Regions from separate parts of the Homo sapiens genome. Here region 2 is linked to region 1. The links are contacts of gene promoters, found by promoter capture Hi-C in blood cells and fetal thymus (Javierre and others, 2016). All regions are on one chromosome and are shown on one strand. Each heading gives the region's core, a stretch centred on a gene start or on the middle of the fragment in contact. The rest is flanking DNA. Distances are from core to core; before and after follow the strand shown. Region 1 holds the start of PCGF5 (polycomb group ring finger 5). Region 2 has its middle 59 kb from the start of PCGF5.

Region 1 (4,643 bases), core at 471-2,970:
GAGTCCCTGCCAATACAAGTTAAAAGATTAAAAACTTAAGTAATTATCCTCCCTATCAAAATGTTCCCCATTTCCATTTTTAACCCTTCATCCAGTTACGAGTCAAACCAAGTTGATATCCTCTGCTATTCCATGCCCGGCTGCTCTACTTGTATATCACCTCTCCACCTGCAGTCCATCTTATATTCTGCTACGAGGCACATTTTATTTTGTGACACTTGGTTGGGTCTTCTTATCAACGAATGTCAGTGTCTTCTCTTTACAAACAGAAAAATGTTTCCCATTCTGTCACATAAGACCTTCTACAGGTTAACCTTAATATACCCTTCAACAACTTTCTTCAACCTGAAGGGATCACTCCTCTCCCACCGTCTCCTCTGCAGGTTCTAAGCACTCTATCCAACACGCCCTTTCTCTCCTCTGTCTGCATGCCACCTATCCTTCAAGCCCTTCTCCAATGCTATTCTCAGTGCAATCTTTCCCTAGTTTTTAATGCTTACTTCTTTCCTATTACATTTGCCTTTTATTTTGATTTATAGTTACGTTCATTCTTTACCTTCTTTGTTAGACCAAAAACTCTTCAATAGAAACTGGTCATATTTAGTAGATATATAACCTGGATAATGCTACTTTCCTGTCTCAGGTTTTTTTTTTTTTTTAACTGTAAAATATGTATCCTCTCAGAAAACACAACATGAAAGGTGTTGATTTTCCTAAGTGCATTCTATAAACAGGAACTTTCCCCCATCTTAGCTGTTAACTCATTGGTAAATATAAAGCAACCGGAAAGGTAAAAGGCATTCCATCAACACATACCCACTGCGAATGTGCAGGGAATAGGCTCTACGTGTAATCATCCTATCCTCTTGGGAAACCGTATTCGTGCGTGTAACAGAAAGCAAGCATAATTAAAAGACAGGGAATCAGGGTTCTGGCCCTTACCCCTGTATGACCTTCAGCAAACCGTTTCATATCTGAGCCTGGGTCTCGGCTTCCTCCTCTATAAGTTGGGATTAACTGCCTTGCCTTTCCCACAGGTTTGCCATGAAACTCCAAAGTAAGAGAAAGTCCTCTGGAAGAGGAAATGCACGGTCCCGACCTGGGGTGGTACTAAGATCCTAAGGCACAGAGCCCTGTGACCAAGACAGTTAAGGGAAGCAAGAACTTGCAATGACGGGGCGGGGGCAAGGGGGAACTTTTCTGCGTTCTCCGGCAGGACCCAGCGGTACAGCCCTGTGGGGTCCCAGCACAGCCGCGCCCGCCCGGCAGGTGCGCGGGCCCAGGCCCCGCGGGCGCGCTGCTCAGGCCGGGGAGAGCGAGCAGCCTTTCCCGGGGCCGGCGTCCGCAGCCGGCCGCTCTCCCCGCCGAGGTAGGCACAGCTCCGAAGCCCCCGCCCGGGTCGGTAGCCCCCTGCACCCGAAGGGCCCTCCCGGCTCCAGGCTGGGCCGGCCAGGGCAGGTGTCTGGAGGTGTCGCTCTCGCCTGAGGCGCAAACTTGGGTGAGGAGTCTGGCGTCCCTGCAGCTCCCCAGCCCGCCCGGTACCTACCCAGCGGCCGCCACCGCCGCCGCTCCTCGCCCGCCAGCGCGCCGGCCTCAGAGTGAAGGAAAGTGAAACAGAAACAGCACCCGCCGCGGCCTGGCCGGTCCCCGCGCCCCGTCTGCTCTCCCCCTGCAGGCGGGAGCGCGCCGGCTCTGTGGGGCCACTCGGCTCAGGCCCGACAGGGCGCGGCGGGCCTCGGGGCCCAGGTCCGGTGCCGCCTCCAAGGGCAACTCCACCCACTTCCAACCGGCGGCACCGCCCGCCCCGCCGCCCGGCCACGCCCCCGCCGCCCGGCCACGCCCACCACCACGCCCGGAGGCCGCGCCTGCCGCCTGCGCTGCTCGCAGGTGCAGCTGCCGCCCTGGCTCCCTGTGCTACACGTAGCTCTGGCCAAATATTATCTCGGTTCTTCTTATCCTCACCGTCCACCCCTTCGGTTGTTTACATCATAACAATGACTGGCATATTTTCCCTGGAGGGTTTAAAAGCAACGGTCAGTGATGAGACTGACGCACCCTGAGAATTTGTCTCTTCAGCTGCGTCTTCCCCAAGTCTGTCCCACCTGCGCCGAAGTGGGGACAAAGCCATCCCTTGATTTGCACCTTATCTGAAAATGACTGACAAACTTGTTACTGTAGTGTGGGTCCAGAGATCATGGTCGTTGACAACTATAAGCAAACGGGAACGTTGTGGAGGTTGAGGGTGGGGGGAGGGTGAGTGGTAAAGAAGCATTACTGTTTGCAACGTTCAAAACAAACAAAAACCCAGTACTCTTTCTAGTGGACTTTGAGATCTACAAGAGACCATTCACTGCAAAAACCTTCATTCAAAAATGTGTATTCTAGAAGCCAGAGCAGTGATGGCTTAAGAAAATGACAATAATAGAGGGTAGGGGAGACTGTCAATGCAAAATATTTGCTTTTTCTCCAACTGATAGGCGTTAACTTCTTACTAAAGTGATAGATGACTCTAAGTGGCAAACCAACAAACTTAACAACCGCTAGTCCAGCAGCCATACAAGTGTTCAAAGATCCATTTCAAATTTAAAATGCATCAAGCAGTAGACCAAGGCAGCTTTTTAAACTATCCATTTTATAATCAAACTTTGACATGTTTAAAAATTGCCATTTCTAATATCACAGCAGGAGCAATACATTTTCTGAAACAGCTTTAAATGACCACATTCGTATAGTCCTTTAAAGAACCATTTTCCAAAATCATACATGCCAATGTCCAAGCTGGGATCAACTTCATAAGTCGCAGCAATCACAATGAGTAAGAGAAAACAAGTGAGGTCAAATGACTTCATGGCAGTAGGATTACTCTTTATGCTTCATATCTTTCATTTCAGAGACTAAACAGAACAGTATGTGAAAAATCACACTACTTCTAGTGTGTTTAAAATATGCATTGGAGGATATTACTGTATATATACCACAATATATAAAAAAGACTTGGTATGTTCCTATTTTGTGTCTGAAACTATTTTAAATATGTTTTAAAAGAATAACAGTGGAGTCCAGGGGGCTTAAATGTGATTGGTGACCTATCACAAGTGCGGTTAATCAGTATTCCTGAAGGAAACGAGCTTGAAGGCGGGTTTTAGGATGACATATGTTAGCAATGAAGGAAGGGGTCACAAACATGTGATACAGCAGTACCTGAGGATGAATGTGGAGGTGGGGTTGCCAGAATGGACTTGGGATGAGGGAGAACTACAACTTTTATAAGGCAATCTGTGCTTTGTGTCTGGAGAGGCAGCAATAGTTTGCAGTTAAGTGTTCTGTGGTTTCGCCTCTGCCTTCTTCAGCAACCATTCCATCTCTCCCACCCCAATTTAAAAAAATGCACACATACACAAAATAAAAACAAGTTTAAAAACTCAAACATTTGTCTGGTTAAAAAAATAATAATAGGCCTGGCACGGTGGCTCATGCCTGTAATCCTAGCACTTCTGGAGGCCGAGGTGGGCGGATCATGAGGTCAGGAGTTTGAGACCAGCCTGGCCAATATGGCGAAACCCCATCTCTACTAAAACAAAAATCAGCCGGGCATGGTGACATGCGCCTGTAGTCCCAGCTACTCAGGAGGCAGAGGCAGGAGAATCGCTTGAACCTAGGAGGTGGAAGTTGCAGTGAGCCGAGATCGCACCACTGCATTCTAGCCTGGGAGACAGAGCAAGGCTCTGTCTCAATAATAATAATAAAATAAGAATAATAACAAAAGTAATGGTAAGAGGGAGTGTTGTGAAATGGCAACTTTCCTGTGTGATGTGTATGCAGATTGTAAGTATTAAAACATGGGACTTTCAGCTGCTGTGCTGCCTCTCCTTCTCCCCTGGGGCTCCTTACCAGTTACTTATCCTAGTCTAGTCCCTTGGTACTGCCAGTGGGGGCAGAGGACAAATGACGGAAGCTACAACATGAGGGGGTAGCTCTGATAACAAATCTCAAGTACCAGTGGGACCCTCAAGTAAACAAAGGCCTGGAAGCAACTGGATATAGGACCAGGGGAAAAAAAAAGGCAGGATAAAGGAATCATAGCTGGGAGTCCCCTTATCAATAATGTACTTCAGCTTTCTCATTTTATAGATGTAGAAACTAAGATCCTGAGACGTGGTGAATTCATAATTACAGAGCTGATTCTGGTAGAGCCAAGACAAAAACAAAGGTGTCAGCTTCAGTTTTCTTTAATACCTCTTGAGAGTACTTCTCAAGTCCCAGAACTTAAGGGAGGTCTGGTAAGAAACAGATTAGGGCTGCGCACGGTGGCTCACGCCTGTAATCCCAGCACTTTGGGAGGCCAAGGCGGGCAGATCAACTGAGGTCAGGAGTTCAAGACCAGCCTGGCCAACATGGTGAAATCCTGTCTCTACTAAAAATACCAAAATTAGCCAGGCTTGGTGGCAGGTGCCTGTAATCCCAGCTACTAGGGAGGCTGAGGCAGGAGAATCACTTGAACTTGGGAGGTGGAGGTTGCAGTGAGCCAAGATCGCGCCATTGCACTCTAGTCTGGGGCACAAGAGCGAGACTATGTCTAAAGAAAAAACACACAGATTAACTTTTTTTGTTGTTGTTAAACAAGGAAGAAAGAAAGGGAAGAA
Region 2 (4,900 bases), core at 2,330-4,829, 60 kb after region 1:
AAGTACAAACGCCTGGGGCCAGAAACCTGTAGACCCAGGAGAGGTGGCAGCGAAAAAATAGCACGTTTCGGCCGCTGCCCGAGTGTTGGCGGGGAGGGGATGGGAGCAGCGGGCACGTCCGTCCGTGCCCCCCCACCCCACCACCCCGGCACGCGCGCGGGCAGCGCCCGCAGGGGGCGCGGAGGGCGTACAGGTGGGTCCCGCCGGGTCCTGCCTCCTGCCCCTCCCTGCCACTCGCGGAAGGCCACCGCGCCCTCCCCAACGCGCCTCTCGCTCGCCCCTTTCCTCTCCGTGACATCTTATATAATAACCTGAGCTAATCAAAACGGAAGCGACGCGCGCAGCCGGGAGCAGATGCTCGCGCCCCGAGCCAGCGGCCCCCAAACTAGGCGCCGGGGCGCGCGGCTGCCGGCGGGGGAAGGGCCCGAGCGCCGACTCAGGTCGTCCCTCCTCGGCGGAGGCGCCGCTGCTGCCGGTCCCCATCAGGAAGCCGCGAGCGTCACAAACTGCGTCAGCTTCTTCGAACACATTTCATGGTCTCCCTCCAGCCAGGGAGCCGCTGCTCCCGCGGCGGGGCCGCGGCCAGGACTGGAAGGCGCCCCTCTGGGGAAGAGAAAGTTCCTCGGGGCCCTCCCCTTGCCCGCCCGGCGCCCGGCCCCGCCGTGCCTCCAGCCCCTTTCCGCGCGCCGCCAGCCCGGCCGCGCCGCCCACCGGCCCGCACCGAGGTCAGGTTAGGCAACTTGTGACCCCGGGGCGCCAGGCGGCCCCCTCCCGCCCGCCGGGCTCGCCTGGCTCCCGGGGCCTCCCCCCCGGCCCCGCGGAAAACAGCCACGCCAGAAACTTCCCTGGGCCGCGTCGGGCGGGGAAGCCGCCTGGGTCCCCGCGCATCGCCCTTACCTTGCTCTCGAGAGGCCACGATCCGGGCGGGCCGCGCGGGGCGCGTGGTGCGCGAGCGCGCGCGCGTGGGGCGGTAGGTGAGGGAGCCCGCGCCGGCGGGGGCGGGGCGGGGCAGCGGGGGTGCGAGCGGCGCGGGGCGGGGGCTGGGCCGGCCCGGCGGGCGGGCGCGAGGAGAGCAGAGCCCGCGGCGGCGGCGGCGGCGCTGGCGGCGGCGGGCGCGGGGCGAGCGCGCCGAGGGGGCGGAGGAGTTACCGTGGGTTTGTTTACGCATTGCTGCCCGGCTCGGGGCACAGCCCGCACTCCCTGATTGGACACAAACTGGGGCACAGCCTCTCGCCGCCGCCCGCCAGGCCTCCTCGAGCCGCCGCCGCGCAGCTCCCGGAGCGTCCTGCCGGGCACGGCCCACGGCGGTGCCCAGGCCTGGAGGGGACGAGCCGCGGCGGCTGCCCCGGGCGGGCGTGAAGCCAAGCTTTCGCTCGGGGCTCGCAGTCTCCCACCTGTAGTGGCCCGACCTTGGCAAGGAGAAATTCGAAACTTCTCAGGCCGGAGACTTCGAATCGTACAGCCTCTGAGGGGGCACCTTCTCCCCCCACAGACGGAGGAAGCGTGCCCTTGAATAGATGGAAGGCAGCTCGAATGTCAGTATGCCTCCCTGGCGATGGTCAAGTCCAGGCTTCCCGTATAAGCTGCCCTCCACCCGAGAGCTCGCAGTTTCTTTTCCTGCCTCCAGCTTCTTTGCTTCTAATCGCAAAGTCCCCCCACCCCACCCCACCCCCGCCACCCCACCAGAAGTGACCTTGCCGCCCTGATGCTGAAGATCCTCCAGTGACTCACCATGGCCTCGAGCCTTAATGCCTCATTCTCAGAGTCCTCAATAGCTGGGCCTCCATTTTTCAGTCTCCCCTCCACTTCCCTACCCTCACCCCAAAGCCTCCGTTTACAGACAACACCTGAAATGTGTCTGTCCTTTGACACTTTATTTTGATCCTTCTCTGTTCTCTGCCAGAATACCCCTTAGCCGCCTCCACCTGTCAAACTTTGTTGGACTCAGCTCCTGTAGCCGTCTCCTACCATCTCTGTGCAGTCTTCCTGCTCCCCCAAGCAGAATCCCCCCTTGTGGCTGGCATCATTCTGACCTGGGGGTCAGTTGTGTGCATGTGCTGTACCCTCTCTGATCTGTGGATTCCTTAAAGAGGAGTCTGCTTTTAACAGAGCTCTGGTGATGGGAGAAATGAAAGCTGTAAGACTAATATTGCCTCCGAGTGTCTGCAGCTCTGGTGAGACTGGAAAAGTTCAGGAGTCTTTATCAAGAGGCTCTCCTGATAGGTCCGCAAACCTCATCTTGCAGGAAGCAAACACTTCCAAAAACTGAGCATGCCCTCCATTTTTCCTGCGTCTCTATATCTCCTCCCCACCACACCTAGCTATGTGCCCTCCATACTCATAATGGGCACTTAAGTAACCCTTGAGGAATAAAATTGAATTCTACAGAGATGTTCCTTAAGCCAAGGCTGGCGGTGATCAAAGAGAATAGAGTAAATCATGAAAAAGTAGACATGAACCCAGTCATTTTACAGCTAATTCCTAGGCTAAGAGCCTTCCGGCCCTGTTAGGTAGTGTGGGTTTGTCGCTGTCTGATCACACACTGAAGTAGACCCTGACCCTTCTTGACTCCTGGGACTGCTAGATTTTTTTCTCCGATGCGCTGCTTGCAGTCCCATTAGGAAAAGTGTCTTTGAACTCTGCAAGTGAATCCAGCGAAAGTATTCTTTCCCAAGCGAGTCAATAGCAATAATTTAATGCAGCAAATTAGTTACAAGTGTTGAAAGAACTGGACGTTCAACTAGGGTAAGGTGAGGCAATCCTGAGATTAGCAACTGCTGGACGTGCCTTCTCCCCTGAGGCTGGAGGGGCAAAGAGAGGAGACAGCCGGAACCCTGGAGGGCTTGTCCAATAGGAGTTGGAGCCACAAAGTTAGTGCAACTACTGCGGCAGACATCTTCCAAAGTAGGGGATGAGAGTCCCCCTGGCTTCTCCCTGCCTCCCACCCTCCAAGCCCACCCAGTGGTGGAAAGCAGGAGAAGCCAGTGGACAAGATGACAGAGGGCAGGGCTCAGAATCCCTACAGAATATGTGACAGCCGCAAAAGGAGAATGGGTCTGAGAGCCCAGCGGCAAATGACTGGCACCTGGGCTTGGGTGCTGCACCTGGTTGCCTCTTCCTTTAGGCCGGATTCCGCAGTGCAGCAGGAACTTTCTCTTCCCGAGGCCTAGAATTCTCTCCTTCTTACTTGTCCCTCTTTGCCCTTCTGCTTCCATTACCGTTCTATCCTCTTCTTCGCCGTCACTCCCTTACATTTCTTTTTTCTGTCTCGTCTTGTGTACTCTGGCTCTCGTTTTTTCTTTGTGTTCCCATATATCTCCGCCTGACTTCTTTTCCCCCCCAGAGTCTCTTCTCCCCTCTTCTTGTCCTACTCCTCCCTGGGCAGGATGGCAGCTTTCTTCAGCATGAAGGAGATGACCAGTTGCCTATGGAAGGAAGAGATTAGGAATTATCCTGTTGCTGCCCTTCCAGACAGTGTAGTAGATATTTTACAAACGTTCTCATTTAATCTTCATCTCACTCCTACTAGCTGGGCAACATTTAATATAATCTGGTGACTTTGCTATTGCCTGTCACAAGGAAGGCTTTGTGCCCGTCACCAACAACACTGCTGACGGTTCTCTTACCTTTCCTGTACGTGGTTCCCTGCAACCTTTCTTCTTATCCTACATCTTTTCCTTTCATTAGCACAGATACTTCGCCCAAATCCCAACGCCCAACAGTCTAATACATCCGCACTTTAAATCCCCAAAGACTGAGAATGGCTATTTAGAGGAGGTGCATTTCAGCTGGCACTTGAAGGATGGATAGATTTTCAACAGATGGAAATGGAGGAAGGGTATTCTTGGTGGAAGAGTAAATTATGTGGTTTACGTTGACTGAAACAAGGGATAACTAAGAAATGAAGCCATATTTCAGAAACTTGTCTTCAGCTCTCAGTTCTCTGAGACTATTCCGAAACACAGATTAACCATGAGCGTATTAAATATAGATATGATTTATATAATTAGAATCATAGTGTTTAAAGCCAGAAAGAATTTTCAACATTGTTTGGTGCAACGTGTCCAGTTTTAAGTGAGGGAACTGAAGCCCAAAAGACTTAATACCTGGGATATCATAATGATTAAACATGGGCATTAGAGTTTGACTACCTGTATTCAAATCCCTACTTTAACAAATTTTAGTTTATCTGACCTTGAATTATCTGTGGGTAAGTTTTCTTATCTATAAAATAGAGAAAAATGATAGAATCTACTTCAGTGGGTTGTCATGAGAATGAAATATCGTCATATGTAAAACACTCTTGCCCAGTTCAGACTGCCATAACAAACTACCATAAACTGGGTGGCTTAAACAACAAACATTCATTTCTCACAGTTCTGGAGGCTGGAAGTATGACATCAGAGTGCCAGCACAGTCAGGGGTTGGCTGAGGGCCTTTCTTCCTCCTCTGGAGTGCTGACTTCTCATGGTATCCTTACATAGTGAAAAGACACTGAGCCTCGGAGCTCTCTGGGGTTCCTTTTATGAGGGCAGTCATCCCATTAATGAGGACTCCACTCTCATGACTTAATTACTTCCCAAAGGCCCCACCTCCCAATACCATCACACTGGAGGGTAGGATTTCAACATATGAATTTGAGGGGAGCCATGAACATTCAGTCAATTATAGACATGTTATAGGTGCCTGGCATATAGACAGTACTCATTAAATATAGGCAAAAAAAAATTATGACTTCCTGTGGCTATCCAGCTAGTAAATACCAGAACTAGAACTGGTACCCCAAGTTTTTGTGGCCCTAATTGTATGTTCCCTGCATTATTTGAAGCTATGTCTTATGATGCTTGTTTAACACCATCTGTGAAGATATGGTGCTCCTCTAGTCTGCTGTTTAAAGAAG

What was found. Contacts are between HindIII fragments. The CHiCAGO score rates a contact against its expected background, and 5 or more counts as called.
Region 2: a fragment that was not itself captured here is called in contact with the fragment with the promoter of PCGF5 in region 1 in 4 of 17 cell types (total CD8 T cells, naive CD8 T cells, naive CD4 T cells and 1 more); the score reaches 7.4 in total CD8 T cells.

What each region holds. Positions count from the first base shown.
Region 1 is chr10:91,217,740-91,222,382 of GRCh38, reverse strand. It overlaps PCGF5 (polycomb group ring finger 5), which reads right to left and starts at 1,720. Exons shown (of 10, transcript NM_032373.5): 1 at 1,547-1,720. RefSeq lists silencers at 1,097-1,391, 1,081-1,540, 1,611-1,920 and an enhancer at 2,111-2,180. The HindIII fragment of the contact is 12,523 bases long and covers 1-4,643 here.
Region 2 is chr10:91,159,079-91,163,978 of GRCh38, reverse strand. It overlaps a transcript of PCGF5 not described here. Among named protein-coding and RNA genes, the nearest start is that of PCGF5, 59 kb to the left of the region's middle. RefSeq lists silencers at 102-441, 642-1,311, 1,412-1,501. The HindIII fragment of the contact is 4,422 bases long and covers 1,369-4,900 here.